Linked DNA regions of Homo sapiens: region 1 is linked to region 2. Evidence: promoter capture Hi-C in human tissues and cell types (Jung and others, 2019). All regions are on one chromosome and are shown on one strand. Each heading gives the region's core, a stretch centred on a gene start or on the middle of the fragment in contact. The rest is flanking DNA. Distances are from core to core; before and after follow the strand shown.

The links. Contacts are between HindIII fragments. The study calls those that stand out against the background at their distance.
Region 1: a contact is called between a fragment that was not itself captured here and the fragment with the promoter of ZNF736 in region 2, in 1 of the 25 tissues and cell types used here (bladder).

The regions. Positions count from the first base shown.
Region 1 is chr7:64,707,731-64,711,341 of GRCh38, reverse strand. ZNF107 (zinc finger protein 107) reads right to left here. Exons shown (of 4, transcript NM_001282359.2): 4 at 1-3,611. The coding sequence ends at 2,686. Among named protein-coding and RNA genes, the nearest start is that of MIR6839, 30 kb to the right of the region's middle. The HindIII fragment of the contact is 5,049 bases long and covers 1-3,611 here.
Region 2 is chr7:64,312,539-64,316,240 of GRCh38, reverse strand. ZNF736 (zinc finger protein 736) reads right to left here and starts at 2,280. Exons shown (of 4, transcript NM_001170905.3): 1 at 2,088-2,280. The coding sequence starts at 2,090. RefSeq lists an enhancer at 2,048-2,227. The HindIII fragment of the contact is 17,485 bases long and covers 30-3,702 here.

The sequences.
Region 1 (3,611 bases), core at 426-2,925, 400 kb before region 2:
GGCATAAAGATATACACATACTATGTATCCACAAAAATTAAGAGAAATAAGTTTAAATTTTAAAAAGAATAAAAATCTAACCTATGGGAACAATATTCTTTATTAGCAGTTTAAAGTCACTAGCAAAAATAATTATTAGAGATGTTAGCCCATTATGTTATCAAGTAGTATACTGTTACCCTCTTTTACCTAAACCCTTGAGTAATGTGGGATAGGTAAAGTCAGTGGCATGAAAACACTTCATTGAATGCACAATAGTTTTAACATGTTAAAAAAAGTTTAATTAAAAAACTAAGTTCACGCATAATCCAAAAATTTTTAAACACATTGCATTTTATTACATAAAAGTACAAATAGTAAAATGATATACTACTAATTCACTTTAATTTTAACTAAGATTAAAAATGGTTTTCTCTTACTATAATGCAGAAGAATATTGCTCTGAAAACCTACTTCATGGATCACTCAATATTATAAGTTAAACACAAACAGCCTCTTCACTCAGGTTTTCATCATGCATCTTACATTTTAATGTCCTTATTCTTTCATAGAAAGTGTCATAAATAATACCGACCTAACAGAAATGATTTCTCATATCTTTGATGCATGAAAAATTAATCACATGCTTTCACATGTGAATACAATAGGAATGAAGAGCATGAATTTGAGTTGAATTACATCATTTGCTTTTCAAAAACTAATTTTTCAAGAAAAAATATAATTTGAATGTAATTATACATCTACAAAAAAATTCTACTTCTTTTAAAGTTATATACACATTATTTACCTACCAACTTTAGTTTTAAATTATTTTCTATACTCAGCATTCTGATTCTATACTCAGCAATGTCTGAAGTGTCAGTACCTTAGATATTTCTACTGTGAATTCTCTGATATTTATATAGACTTAATTTTGGATTAAATTATTTTTATATTTACTTCACTTGCAAAAATATATTTTAGTATGAGGCCTCTGGTATTTTCTAAGCTGTAGTTTTTTAAAAAATGTTTTCACAAATGCATTACATTTACAGTGCTTTTCTCCAATATAAATTTTCTGGTGTTGAACAACATTTGAGCAACTGCTTCATGGTTTTCCTCTAGTGCAAAATGGGTACAAAAGTATCTGTGATACAAGTAAAGGTACTACAACCCTCTTCGTATTTGTATTGTTTGTCCTCACAATGAATACTCTTTTTTTGTTTTGTTTTTGAGACGAAGTTTTTGCTCTTGTTGCTTTGGCTGGAGTGTAGTGGTGTGATTTCAGCTCACTGCAATCTTCGCCTCCCAGGTTTGAGCAATTCTCCTGCTTCAGCCTCCCAATTAGCTGGGATTACAGGGGCCTGCCACCACACGCAGCTAATTTTTGTAAAATTTTTAATAGAGATGGGGTTTTGCTATGTTGGCCAGGCTGGTCTCAGACTCCTGCCCTCAGGTGATCCACCCACCTTGGCCTCCCAAAGTGCTGGCATTACAGATGTGAGCCAGCACAACTGGCTCCTCTTCTTCACTTTAAAGGCTTATATTTTCTGAAAGATCTCTTGACAAAAATTGCATTTATAATGCTTTTATTACGTACTAACTCTCTAATGTTGAGTAAAATCTGAGCAGATAATAATGGCTTTTCCACATTCCTTGTATTTGTACAATCTTTCTGAAGTATAAATGCTTTCCTGTGCAATAAGGGGTGAGCATTTATTAAAAGTGTTGCCACATTTTTTACACTTCCAGGAGTTTTCTTCAGTATGGATTCTTACCTACAATCAAGTGTGACAACCATTTAAAGGCTTTGTGATATTTTTCACATTTCTAGGATTTTTCACCAGTATGATTTATGTTAGAAAGTTCGAGGTGTTGTCAAAATTATTGTCACATCATTCAGGTTTGTAAAGTTTTCAGTATTATCTTATGTTTAGTGAGGTTTGAGGATTGGTTTAAAGTATTGCCACATTATTCACATTTGCAGGGTTTCTCTCAAAGTATAAACTGTCTTATATGTAGCAAGGTGTGAGGACCAGTTAAAGGCATTGCCACGTTTTTTACATTTGTAGGGTTTCTTTCCAGTATAAATACTCTTACATGTAGTAAGAGTTGAGAATCAGTTAAAAGCTTTGCCACAGACTTCACATTTGTAGGGTTTCTTTCCAGTATGAATTTTCTTATCTACAGTTAAGGGTTAAGGAAGGTTAAAAGCTTTGCCACATTCTTCACAATTGTAGGCTTTCTCTCCAGTATGAATTTCTGTATAGTAAGGTATGAGGATTGGTTAAAAGCTTTGCCACATTCTTCACAACTATAGAGTTCCTCTCCAGTATAAATTATCTTATGTGTAGAAAGGTGTGAGGACTGATTAAAGGCATTGCCACATTCTTCTCATTTGTATGGCTTTTCTCCAGTATGAATTACCTTATGTTTAGTAAAAGTTGAGGATCAGTTAAAGGATTTGCCACATTTTTCACATTTGTAGGATTCTCTCCAGTACGAATTTTCTCAACTTTCAGTAAGGTTTGAAGATTAGTTAAAAGCTGTGCCACATTCTTTACATTGTAAGGTTTCTCACCAGTATAAAATACCTCGTGTGTGCAGAAAAAGTTGAAGACTTGTTAAAGGCTTTAACACATTCTTCACATTTGTAGTTTCTCTCCAGTATGAATTTTCCTATGTGTAGTAAGCTTGTAGGATCAATTAAGTTTTGCCATACTCACATTTGTAGGGTTTCTCTCCAGTATGAATTTTCTTATGTGTAGTAAGATTTGAGGATAGGTTGAAAGCTCTGCCATAATCTCCACATTTGTAGGGTTTCTCTCCAGTATGAATTATCTTATGTATATTAAGAGATGAGAACTGGTTAAAGGATTTGCCACATTCTTCACATTTGTAGGGTTTCTCTGAAGTATGAATTTTCTTATGTGTAGTAAGGTTTGAGGATTGGTTAAAAGCTTTGCCACATTCTTCACATTTATAGGGTTTCTCTCCAGTATGAATTTTCTTATGTGCAGTAAGGGTTGAGGATAGGTTAAAAGCTTTGCCACATTCTTTACATTTGTAAGGTTTCTCTCCAGTATGAATTATCTTATGTCTATTAAGGGTTGAGGAGCAGTTAAAGGCTTTGCCACATTCTGCACATTGGTAAGGTTTCTCTCCCGTATGAATTCTCTTATGTATAGTTAGGTTTGAGAATCGGTTATAAGCTTTTCCACATTCTTCACATTTGTGGGGTTTCTCTCCAGTATAAATTATCTTATGGTTAGTAATGTTTGAGAATAGGTTAAAAGCTTTTCCATGTTCTTCAAATTTGTAGAGGTTCTCTCCAGTATGAATTATCTTTTGTGTAGTAAGGTTTGAGGACTGGTTAAAAACTTTGCCATGTTCTTCACATTTGTAGGGTTTCTCTCCAGTATGAATAATTTTATGTATAGTACGGTGTGAGGACTGTTTAAAGGCCTTGCCAAATTCTTCACATTTGTTGAGTTTCTCTTTAGTATGAACTATCTTATGTCTAGTAAGTTGATAGGATTGATTAAAGGCTTTTCCACATTCTTCACATTTATAGGGTTTTTCTCCAGTATGAATTCTCTTATGTTTAGTAAGGGTTGAGAATCGGTTAAAAG
Region 2 (3,702 bases), core at 1,031-3,530:
CGAGGGCATCCAGCTGCTCCCCTGAGAGGCTCCACCCAATGCCTCAGGCTCTTCTCTGAAAGGAGATGACCCAGGGGCTAATGTTTGCTAGACACTCCAAGAGATATGGTCCTTGTGGGTATCTTGGATCATCCCCAGAAAGCTGTAATACTTGGACCAGGAAAACACAGGAGAGTGACTGAGGACACATCACCCTGCAAAGGATCCAAAGACATTCTGGGAAGGCGCGCGTGCCTAGAGAAGATGAGAGGAGATGCGCAGTGTCAGGTGACTACTCTTTGCTTTTCTGTCCTGTGAAATATGCACAAACAGACTAATATATTAAAAAGAGCCACCCACGGCTCTGTTAAACAAAAATAAACAAAATGCCACATCCGTTTTAAAATTAAATAAAGAACTGATAGTTCATAATGTGATTTGGAGAGGGATAGTTGGCATTTGGGAATGTGGGAAAGAAATTGGAAATTTAGAATTTTATACAGTCCCTAGAACAGTTAGGCTGGGAGAACAGTTTTAGATTTGAGACCCTGCTTGCCAAACATTTGAAAAATGCAGAGAAAACCAACGACCCTGTGGAGCATTAAAATAATTAAATAGCTAGCAATTAGGCTGAAGTGGCCATGGTGCCCTGGGATTCTGCCTAAGGAAACCTAACTACGTCGAAGGAATTTCTGGTAAATTATTAACTTTGAGAAACAACAACAACAACAACAAAACAACTTAGGCTTAACCAACCACAAGCTGCCAATAAAAAGCTCTAATTACATAACCAGGACATTTCCACCGGAGGGCTGCAAATGCAATACGTAACTGTAACCAATCAAATATTGAATCTGGTTTGCTTCCTCATACCTCTTAAAAAAAAAAAACAACCTTTTGTTCCAAGACCCTCCTTTGAGCCCCCAAACAACAAATCATAGCTGGGTGTTCTCTGATTGATAAATTACTGTTTGTGCAAGTAAACTATTTGTATTAATCGCTTCTGGCATTACTATAAATACCTCAGACTGGGTAATTTATAAGAGGATTAATTGGCTCATGGTTCCACAGGCTGCATAGAAAGCATAACACCAGCGTCTGCTTCTGGGGAGGCCCCACCCAGAAAGCTTAAAATCATGGATGAAGGTGAAGCAAGAGCTTGAAAAAGAGGCAAGGTGGGGTGCTGTACACTTCTAAATGATGAACTTCAGGGAACTCACTCACTATTGAGAGGACAATACCAAGAGGAATGGTGCTAAACTATTCGTGAGAAATCCGGGCCCACAATCCTTCCACCAGGCCCCACCTCCAACATGGGGGATTACATTTAAATAGGAGATTTGGGCTGGAAAACACATCCAAATTATATCCTAAAGTTGCCTCAATTTAGGCTAGGGTGGTGGGTCATGCACGTAATCCCGGCACTTTAGGAGGCCCGAGGCGGGCGGATCACCTGAGACCTGAGCTCGGGGAGTTCGAGACCAGCCTGAGCAACATGGCAAAAGCCTGTCTCTACAAAAACAAACAAAACAAAATAGGCGTGGTGGCGCACCCCTCTAGTCCTAGCTACTTGGGGGGCTGGGGTGAGAGGATCATCTGAGCCCAGTAGGTGGAGGCTGCAGTGAACCGAAATGCACTTTAGCCTGGGCAACAGAGTGAGACACTGTCTCAAAAATAAATAAATTTAAAAAAGGGCCATGATTTTATTTTTAAAAGGAGAAAGGAGGGACTAGGGACCCCACGGCCCACTGCTTCTTCCACGGAGGAACTCCAGACCCTAAATGAGAATTCCCGTCTTATGACACTCCCAACACCCCCACACAATCTGGAGGAGGGAGACTCGAGGTTGCGGCACAGAGCTGCCCAGGAAGGGATCTGAGCTGGGGAGAAATTCGAGTTTAGGGACAAAACAAGACGTAGCGTTTTGGCTGCTGGCTCAGCCCCTAATCTGCGATGGAGGGAAATGAGGATTGAGCTGTGCCCGCGGGGACTCGGGGATGCAGACTCCAGAGCAGACCGCGAGAAGGCCCAGATACCACCGCAGCCGGTTCCGGCCGGATTCAAACAGCCTCTTCCCCATTCTCGGGACACCCACTCCACGCACTCACCATTTCCCAGCCTCCAGATGTTCCGCCGTCCTCCCTATGGATCTCCCAGTACCTGCAGGTCACAGGATAACAGAAGCTATAGTAGAGTCACCGAGGAACTCCAGGAACGGAGGAGATGGAACAGTGGAGACGCGAACTAGGATCAGAGCCCGGAAGCTAGGAGACAAAGGCCCCGCCATATTGAAGAGGCCGCCTCTTCCTCTGTAGCTGCGCACTTGATTGGACAGTTTCACGCTGGCGCCACTGATTGGCTAGGGCTCCAGGCCCCACCCGTTTCAATCCTAAGTGACAGAAGATGTAATCAGACACTGGGCTGAATGAGGCAAGGGTGACAGGTTTTTGCCTGCAGCGTTTTCAGGCGAGTCCTCCCTGTGCTGGGGGCCTGGCCCTGCCTGAGAGACATTTGTATTTAACCTTGCATATAAGATTATATCACTTTCTGATTATATTTTCGTGTGTGTGTATATATTACATTCTGAATTATAGTTATGTGTATGCTGCAGGCCCTGTCTCAGCATCCTGTCTTTCCCTTTAGCTGCAGGAGATCAAAGTCCTCCAGGAGATGCAGCTGCTTCAGCTGGCTGTAGACAATTATCACCTTCAGTCTGTGAAGCAATTTTGGGTCTGCTTCCAATTAATGGAGTGTCTCAGTGAGACTGAGAGGTGAGGGCCTAGCAGATTGGTTAGAGGTGCCACTCGCCCAGGCCTCCCAAAACACCCTGTCTCTTTCCCACCAAAGCTGAGCCTGCCTGAGGACCTAAACAAGCATGGAGAACCAAGATGGGACCCTAGTCAGGGATAGTGCTGGGCTGTGGGGTAAAGTCAGCTAGGTCAGGGCCTCCAGGTGTGGGGAGGAGCCGGCCTCTTCTGTAGAGCCCTGGGCAAGTCACTGCCCTCTTTGGGCCTCTGTTTTCTTATCTAAAAAATGTAGGGATGATGAGCCTCACAGGGTAATGAGGAGCTTCAAAGGAGAAAAATTTGAGAGTGCTTGTGCCTGGCTCTTCCTGAGAGAGATGATGATGAGAACAATGGTGACGGCTACATATAACTGAGTCCTCACGAGGCCCAGTGAGGTAGGTGTGGTTCCCATCACACTTTCAAGTTGAGAAACAGTCTCAGGGAGGCCTGGCTGCATGCCCAAGGTTCCACACACAGTGAGTGTTGCAGCAGGGAGTGAATCTAGAATCAGAGTTTACTGGAGGTGGCAGGAGCACTGGACCAGCTTGACTCACACCAGTTATCCAGGGTACCAGGTCAATGTAACTGGGCATAACTGGGTGAAGGGAGCATAATATCACTGACCTTGTCCTTGACCCTGGCAGAGGAAGACACCCAAGTTGGCCACCCTAGAGAAGAAACCACAGAAAGCCCAGATGAGGCTAAAGCAGCAAAAAGGCAGGTACCTGTGATGGGGAAGAGCTCCAGGGATTCAGAGGGAAGAGCTCCTCCCTCCCAGCTGGAGGCCTCCACATCAAAAGAGCAAGGGGCCTTTCTCCCTCAGCCCTTCCCTCCTGTGGCAACAGTCCCTGAAATGCCTCTATAAGAGAAATCAGAGTAAAGGCCTGGAAGAGCTGGGCTGAGTGGATTTGGGAAACGGTGGAGCTAGGGACCACAT